Linked DNA regions of Homo sapiens: region 1 is linked to region 2. Evidence: promoter capture Hi-C in 16 types of primary human blood cells and fetal thymus (Javierre and others, 2016). All regions are on one chromosome and are shown on one strand. The core of a region is centred on a gene start or on the middle of the fragment in contact, and the rest is flanking DNA. Distances in the headings are between cores, read along the strand shown. Region 1 holds the start of PLS1 (plastin 1). Region 2 holds the start of PLS1-AS1 (PLS1 antisense RNA 1).

Region 1 (4,633 bases), core at 717-3,216, 60 kb after region 2:
ATACATACTGCACTTCCTTCCCCCACTCCCTCCCACAAACAGGGGCTAAGAATATACTTTGTGCTTAGTGCTGGGTGGGATGTTTAAGTCATAGGCTTTAACCTCCAAGAGCTTACACAACCTGCCAACTTCCTGGTCGGGAAGTTGGGAGGTGCTAAAATACTCAGGATACTATATACAATGGGGATACTAACAGCACAAACAACAGTAGTAAGTGCTATAGGGTTCAGAAGAGGGAGAGCTACTTCATGCTAAGGCAATCAAGGAAGGCTTCCAAAAAGAGGTCACACCTGAGCTACACCTTGCAGCATGAGCAGGACTTCAATACGGAAAGAGGGAGGCAAACAGGCATTTTGGGCAAAGGGCCCAGGTGACTGAGGGAAGGAAGGAGGGCGTTTTCAGGACCAGCAAATTGTTAGGTGGGGCTTCAGTGAAAGGGCACTTTTTGAAAGGAATTTATGAGGTACTAGGAAGCTTAGTAAGAGAAACAACTAATTTTCTGCTTAAGCCAGACTTCATGGTATAAGTAGAAGAGAAAAAGGAAGTTTAATAATGGAGGTAAAGAAGAGTATCTGCAGGGAGTGGTAAAAAGACCCCAGAAAATGAGAAAACCTGGATCCCAGGCCTAGCTTTGCCAATGAGGGGCTTGGGTGGCCACAGCAAGTCATCTAACCTCGCTGGTCTCAGTTTTCTCATTTGTAAACTGAAGCAGCTGAACTGGCTGACCTCAAAGGTCTCTACAGCCAAAACTAGACCAGCTGTATATTATTTCTGCCATTAAAACATTTATCATGGGAGGAATGAAGGGGGGCAGGATACCTGTATTCCCTTTCCATATAGGTTTCTCTTCCTGAACTTAAAATTTCCTCTTCCTAAACTTACTACCTCTCTCTCTATATATATATATGCCTCCACATTACACATTAACACTTTACTATAGAATTTCATTACATAATTCAACTTAAAGGAAAGCTGATTACAAAGGTGGTGGGGGGTGTAAAAGTACTTGCTTCAAGTTCAGTGTGTGCCCCCTGTCCTGAAATTTTGCTTCTGGCTCACAGGTTCTTCAAGAAATTTATGCAGCACAGCTGAAGCCTCATACAAGTGTATCCAACACCGTGGCTGGAGGGAAAGATATCACGGTATAAGCCATAAAATGTGACATAGTAAGTAAGTAAAGGAGGAAAAGTGAGAATTCTGTTACTCATCTAAACGACCGCTTCCTTTTAATAGTACCAAATGAAGACCGAAATACAGTAATAATTGAAAAGTTAGGGAGAAATCTTAAATTTTTTTAAGTCTCCACTTGAAAATGCAGCTGAAACACGGAAAGTTTTTTGGCAGTGAAATTCGCTGAAAACTGACATTTTTATGCCGCATCCAGAGGTCCCTATGCTCCAGGAAAGGTACCAAAAACAGCACGGATGGGATTTCACTACAGCCCTATTGATCCTATGCACCAAAAGGCCAAAGGCAAATAAACCAGTCCCAGAATTAAAACAAAACAGGCTGGTTCAGAAAGCCTCACCGGCAGCCACCCAAAGTTGAAAGAAGAAAACTTAATGAAATACCTTATTTCATTGCATAGAATCACAATTCAGTTAACAGGCTTATTGTTTAAGCAGTGTAAATACGCGATTTAACACCTGCGGGCACTGCCTGCCGGGACTGGGCAGAAGCGTGCCCAGAGGACGGCGGGCGCCACACTGCACAGCCAGGAGACGAGACGCGAGCGAGGGGACCCGGAGATACTGCCCCCGAGCCGCCGCGCGCCCCCAAAGGAGTAACGCTTCGCTTTCCATCTGTCTGTCCAGCCTTCCTTTTGGGCCCTATCCCCACCCCCGCGTACCTGCCGCCACCGCTGTCCTGCCTTCGAGAGGGCAGCTCCCACTGGAGATCCAAGTACCTGCAGGTCCACTCTGCGGCTACCTCTCCGCGCCCGCGTAGCCGCTGCGCTCGCGCCACTGCGCATGCTCGGCCGGCACCCGGGCCCGCAAACTCTGAATCCACTTGCCGCGTTTTGCCTGCGGCTCCCAGGGGAGGGAAAGGGAAGCCCAGAACCTGGGTTTAGGCTAAGGGTGAAAGAGGAGTTGCAGGCGCTGGGAGCGTGGATGGGGAGAGGTGGACGGGCGCTGCGGCAACGTTATCTCTACCGCCCACAGTTACCCAAGTCTAAAGATGACCACCTACACCCTGGGAATGAGTTTAGCACAGCAGTTCTCAAACTTGAGCGTGGATCAGAATCACCTGGAGAGCTTTTTAAATCACAGATCCCAAACCCGGAAACTGAGTTTCCGATTCAGTTAGGTCTGGAGCGTAGCGCGACAGTTCCCATTTCTAACATGTTCTCAGCGAAAACTGGTGCTACTAGTCTGGGTACCACACTTTGGGACCTGCTGGTCAAAAGGAAAGGTATACGTTATTAAAGGAAGACTTGTTTCTCTCCCCTACTCTTTTTTTTTCCGTTTGTTTCACGGATTGCTTCCTTTTCCTTTAACAGCCACACCTGATTAAAATAAATATATAACTAAAGCCCACACTCAAACAAAAGTGGGATATTTTCTCTCGCATGTGAGTCAGGTAAATGGAATGCTGCCTCAAGAGTTCTCACATACTTTGCCTGAAGCATAATCCGTAGTTGTGGTCTGTCCAACTCAGTCCAGAGAACAGAACAAGGTTTTGCTGCCCCTTTAACTCAAAGTCCCACGTGCCCCTTCTGCGCCTAACACAATATCCAATACAGAATAGGCACCCAACCAACCCTGAGATGGTAACAATAGAAAAAATAAAGGGGGGAAGTTGAAATTATTTTAAGAACTCAAACAAATTGGACGAGCAATGAACTATGAAAGTAGGTGGGCCATGGAGAGGGAAGATAAGGAATTTTTCCCACCTGCCACCTAGAGAATCAGGTGAATTTAGTATTCTTATCTGATTTTTCCCACCTGCCACCTAGAGAATCTGGTAAATTTAGTATCCTTATCTGATACTTATTTATCTAGATATGCAAGGGGAGTTAAGTAAGTTCTCACAAAATAAAGCAAAATATTTCCTTAAAAGGTAAACATACATCTAACATATGACCCAGCCATTTCATTCCTAGATGTTATCCAAGAGAAATTAAAACATATGCTTACACAAAAACTTGAACAGGAATGCTCATAGCAGCTGTTTTTCACAAAAGCCCCAAACCAGAAGGAACCCAACTGTCCAACAACATGTAAATGAAAAAACAAATTGTGGTATATTTATACAATGCAATACTACTCAACAATAAAAAAGAAGAAATACTCTCACACAGGACTCAATATGGATAACTCTCAAAATCGGTATGCTGAGTTGAAGAAGCTAGAGACAAAACATATTGTATAATCCCACTTATATGAAGTACAAACTAACCTATAATGACAAAACCCAGATTAGTAATTGCCTGGAGCCAGGAGTGGAGGGAAGGATAAACTGCAAATGAGCAGAAAAAATATTTTTGGAGGGGGACGATGGAAATTTTCTCTGTTTTGATGGTAGTGACAAGTTCACAGGTGTATACAACTGTCATCGCTAAGTTGTACACTTTAAACATGAAAAATGTGTGTAAATTATTCACCAATAAGTTTGATAAGAGAACACTTTTTCATGAAATACTCTTATGATCTGTTTTTTTTTCGTGGTAATATTGACCAGGGCAGGTTCATGAGGAAACGTAGATTCTAAATATGGTATAACCTGATTTGGGAAAGGTAAAATAAAAAGTCATCCTCTGTAAATGAAGCTAAAAATAATGCATATAAAATGTCTGTAACAACCCTCTGTAAAAGCAGCCAACCCTAAGATATGATTTGTAAATATACCATTGATAAAACCGTTTCCCAAAATTGTTTCCAAGTGTAAAATAATAACTAGAGTATATCATTAGAAATGCACAACCAGGGCCCAGTGCAGTAGCTCACGCCTGTAATCCCAGCACGTTGGCAGGCCAAAGTGGGCAGATCACCTAAGGTCAGGAGTTCAAGACCAGCCTGAGCAACATGATGAAACCCCGTCTCTTCTAAAAATACAAAAATTAGCCGGTCGTGGTGGCAAGCGCCTGTAATCCCAGCTACTCAGGTGGTTGAGGCAGGAGAATCTCTTGAACCCAGGAGGCAGAGGTTGCAGTGAGCCAAGATCAAGCCACTACACTCTAACCTGGGCGACAGAGCGAGACTCTGTCTCAGAAAAAAAAAAAAAAGAAATGCACAACCAGCGTGTAATAATTATATAAAGAAAATTGTTACCTGCTTAACTGATTGTATCACTAGCAATGACAAATAAGGTATTCAAACTGTGTTTCCAGGAGCTCTGGGTTTCATGGAGAGAAAAATACGCAGGGCTCTGGATCAAGGACCCTAACCCAGACTGCTTACATATTGTAGTATCTTGTGAAATCTTATTTGATAAAAGGGTTTCACTGATAATTTTGTTTTTTTGAGACTGAGTCTCGCTCTGTTGCCCCGGCTGGAGTTCAGTGGCACGACCTCAGCTCACTGCAACCTCCACCTCCCAGGTTCAAGAGATGCTCCTACCTCAGCCTCCTGAGTAGCTGGGATTACAGGTGCACACCACCACACCTAGTTAATTTTTTTAATTTTAGTAGAGA
Region 2 (4,451 bases), core at 1,016-3,515:
ACGCATTTATCTGCTCTACTGATGGTACAAGCATCATCCCTTAAAAATGTATATTTGAGGCCTACAGAGATTAAGTGACCTGCCCAAGGAAGGTAGACAAAATAAGAGATTCAAAAGCAAATGTTTTTCTAGTGCCCAAGTTCTTAAGTTCTACATGTAGTTCAATTAGCATTCCTACTCTCTCACGGCAAGCATCATAACTAGTTTTAAAGAAAGGAATGATGACTACTTAACACTAAAATGTGAATAACCAGTAAACCAAGCCTGTAAAGTGTTAATTCTTCCAACTATATTTACATTACTATTTAATCAATATGTATACATCAGTAAAACAAATGAATCACATCTGTTTCTCAAAATCATACTAAATGAAAAAAGCAAACTGCTGAAGTATACATACAATATACTATTTATTATAAATTATAAAAACACAAAATACTATATATGTTGCTTATGATCCCATACCTATGTAGTAAAACTTAAACATACATGAGAATAACACAACAAATTCAGAATAGTGGTGGTCTATGTAGAGGGAGGCAAGGAGCAGGGCTTGCAGGGTAGGGCTGAATCTGTTACATCTTTTTTTTTTTTTTTTGGAGACAAAGTCTCACTTTGTTGCCCAGGCTGGAGTGCAGTGGCATGATCTCAGCTCACCGCAGCCTCTGCCTCCCAGGTTTAAGCAATTTTCCTACCTCAGCCTCCCGAGTAGCTGGGACTACAGGCACCCATCACCACATCTGGCTAATTTTTTTTGTATTTTTAGCAGAGACAGGGTTTCACCATGTTGGCCAGGCTGGTCTCTAACTCCTGACCTCAAGTGATCTGCCTGCCTCAGCCTCTCAAAGTGCTCAGATTACAGGCATGAGCCAATGTCCTCAGCCTGTTACATATTTTTTAAAGATACAGTTGAAGCAGTTATGGCAAAATGCTAATGTCTGCTCAATCTAGGAAGTGAGTACATGGACATAGGTTATATTGATTCTGTATTTTAGTCTTTTGCTTTAAATAATTCATATTATAAAAAATTATTCTTAAAGAGAAAAAAGGATGCTTCTTAATCCAAAGCCACAAGCCACTAATAAAGGAAAATCAAGCCATAAAAATAATAAAAAATAAAGATGACCAAGAATATGTTTTTGAACAGGGGAAATTTTACCAAGGCTTTAGGAAACTTAACTACTTCAATCTTGAGAAATTAAAATAATTAATATTATTGTGGGAGAATAATTTATTGAAATGTTAAATTGTGTTTATTCTTTTTCCTCCTCAATTAAAGCAATAACACACTGGGCGTGGTGGCTCACGCCTGAAATCCCAGCACTTTGGGAGGGCGAGGTGGGCGGATCATGAGGTCAGGAGTTTGAGACCAGCCTGGCCAACACAGTGAAACCCCGTCTCTACTAAAAATACAAAAATTAGCCAGGTGTGGTGGCACACGCCTATAGTCCCAGCTACTTGGGAGGTTGAGGCAGGAGAATTGCTTGAACCCAGGAGGTGGGGAGGTTGCAGCAAGCAGAGATCGCGCCACTGTACACCAGCTCGGGTGACAATGTGAGACTCCGTCTCAAACAAACAAAACAAAACAAAACAGCAATAACACTATAACACTTTCTTATCTGAGGGACTCTGGCAGCACAGAAGGCAAAACCAGGCTAGAATCTGTGGTTCCCTCAGTCTTTGGGAAGAAGCATGAACCTCCTAGAGGGCTTACTTAGGTTGGATGTCCTGGCAATCGGATCAGGGGGAAGAGGCCACCTCTGAGAAACCACTAGATGAGGAAGGCAGTGAGAGGGAAAGATTGCCCCCACAGGGAGGAAGGGAAATCTCTAGGTGCCAGCAAGTAAGACTGCTGCTTGCTGCCCTAGGAGTGGCAGGTGCAACAGAACCTCACCGGAGAGAATCTGCCGACTAAGCCAAGGGGTGTTTCCCAGGTAGCCACTGAAGACCGATGATGGAGAATAGAAGAGCTTCCTCTCAGCCTTTTGCTCTACATTAGACCCAGGACAACAGAGGCTGAGGAGCAGATTCCAGGTGCCTGAGAAAGACTTGGCAGTATTCGGGCAGGATGAAGCATGACAATAAAAATAAAGTTGCTTCAAAGAATATCAAGAAATGTGATCTTTCTTTTATCTGACTTTTATGGAAAAAGACTTGATAGTGTTCCTATGGAGAATTGACTGAGATCAGAGGTTCTAGAATATTTCAGTATCTCTGGTGAGTAGAAGTTCTACTGGTACCCCATGTCCTCTTCTTCTTTGCAAATTATTGTCTCTCTCACCACAGCCCTTCCCTTTTCCTATGTTACTTCCCATTTTCAGCCCTCCATTACAAGTTTACAGATCACAAGGTCACTGAAATAAATCACTATGTGAAAAAAAACAGCTATGAAATAGTTGAAGAATTTTCCTTCTAGTTTAAAGGAAAACCTGGAAAATATTTTCATCTATATGTCTAGCAATCTCCTTATTCAACAACATTTCACAACAGGGAGCTGTATCATTCATTTTGGAAAAAGTAAGTATTCATATTCCATATCAACCTGTCCATTTTTTATCAGATTTTCTTTAACTGGAATGTCTACTGACTGTTGAATATAAGTATGAATTGGGATATCATTTATTTTGTTAAATATTAGTCTCCTACTCTACATAACAGCCTTGACTGTCCTTTGGACAAAGGGTAAAATATATGAAAATGGTGCAATATAATTCAAAGATTTCCTGAGCATCCTTCAGCACTAAAATAACTGAGCTCAACTTTTTCATTCATTCACAAGGGACAGCTATGATAGAAAACTTTTCTTAAAAATTGGTCGAGTGCAGTGGCTCATGCCTGTAATCCCAGCATTTTGGGAGGCCAAGGCAGGCAGATCACTTGAGGTCAGGAGTTCGAGACCAGCCTGGCCAACATGGTGAAATCCTGTCTCTACTAAAAATGCAAAAATTAGCCAGGCCTGATGGCATGCACCTATAATCCCAGCTACTTGGGGGGTTGAGGCACAAGTATTGCTTGAACCAGGGAGGTGGAGGTTGCAGTGAACTGAGATTGCACCACTGCACTCCAGCCTGGGTGACGGAGTGAGACTCTATCTCAAAAACAAACAAAAAAAAGTAATTAATTTGATTGCCAACAGCCTGGATTTGCCAAATCCTGGGCTATTTTAAAAAGACAATTTTATTTTCAAACACATAAAATAATTTCCCACATGCTTAGACAATCCTAGAGACCTCGAGAACTTCAATTATGCACCATTATGAAGTGTTAAGCCAGGAACAGCGCACCGGGGGTAAAGTGACACTGGTTCCAAACTGACTAACTCTTTTGTGATCTTTTTTTTTTTTTTTTTTTTGAGACGGAATTTTGTTCTTGTTGCCCAGGCTGGAGTGCAATGGCATGATCTCAGCTCACTGCAACCTCCACCTCCCAGGTTCAAGCGATTTTCCTGCCTCAGCCTCCCTGGTAGCTGGGATTGCAGGCGCCCGCCACCACGCCCAGCTAATTTTTTGTATTTTTAGTAGAGACGGAGTTTCACTATGTTGGCCAGGCTGGTCTCGAACTCCTGACCTCAGCCGATCCACCCACCTCAGCCTCCCAAAGTGCTGGGATTACAGGCATGAGCCACGGTGCCCGGCTTGTGATCTCTTAAAGGGAGGCCTGACAATCTCCTACAAAAACAAAAAATAACAATACACTGTTATTTTAACATTGGGACTTTTTTCTGCTTCAGTCTTCCCAAGTATTTACCATTTCATTATACCCCACATTGCCAAATTAATGCGGTCTCTGTTCTCCACTCTCAACTTGACAGCTTGGAAGGCCGATTCCCCCATATCCTTAACGCCTTCCCATTGGCATAAGACTTCATCACCTCTGTCTTTTCCTTTGCTCAGTGTCTTCATTTCTTATGTATTATTCCGTTCATGTACATTAATTTATTCTTGGTTATGTGTTGTGTTGTAATGGTCTTATTTTGCTATTTTATTTTCATCCCACCTTCCTATCATTGTTTGCTCCTTGCAGGTAAAGGATATTTTATATTTTTATATTCCCACTGGCCTTGTGTTGTATATGTGGGGAAAGGTTAGTAAAATTCATTAAAGGTAATATTTCTCTAATATTTCTCTTCACAGAGCATAAGGAGTACTAGATAACAAAGGGCCAAATAAAACAACAGTTTATGGGAAATGTGCCACCAACTGACAAGAGGAGATGAAGAGTTTCTATACGTCAATAACCAGTTCTCTTCATTCACTTACCCATTTATTTATTCAACAACAACTTATTGAGCACTTGTTTGCTGTACCTCTTTACTGTGCTGTGTATTGGAAGCACAAAGACTAATTTGACAGCATTCAAATTTTTTAATCCACATGTTTATACATGGTGTTTCTTCTAAATCTATCAAAATAATTTTTGTTGGGCCAGGGGCAGTGGTTCATGCTGTAATC

Evidence for each region. Contacts are between HindIII fragments. The CHiCAGO score rates a contact against its expected background, and 5 or more counts as called.
Region 1: a contact is called between the fragment with the promoter of PLS1 here and the fragment with the promoter of PLS1-AS1 in region 2, in 1 of 17 cell types (megakaryocytes). The highest score is 5.5, in megakaryocytes.

What each region holds. Positions count from the first base shown.
Region 1 is chr3:142,593,726-142,598,358 of GRCh38, reverse strand. It overlaps PLS1 (plastin 1), which reads right to left and starts at 1,966. Exons shown (of 16, transcript NM_001145319.2): 1 at 1,850-1,966. PLS1-AS1 (PLS1 antisense RNA 1) reads left to right here. Exons shown (of 4, transcript XR_001740938.2): 4 at 1,062-2,450. RefSeq lists an enhancer at 1,671-1,910. The HindIII fragment of the contact is 10,696 bases long and covers 477-4,633 here.
Region 2 is chr3:142,654,624-142,659,074 of GRCh38, reverse strand. PLS1-AS1 (PLS1 antisense RNA 1) reads left to right here and starts at 2,265. Exons shown (of 4, transcript XR_001740938.2): 1 at 2,265-2,517. All of the region lies in intron 1 of PLS1 (plastin 1), which reads right to left. The HindIII fragment of the contact is 6,495 bases long and covers 1-4,451 here.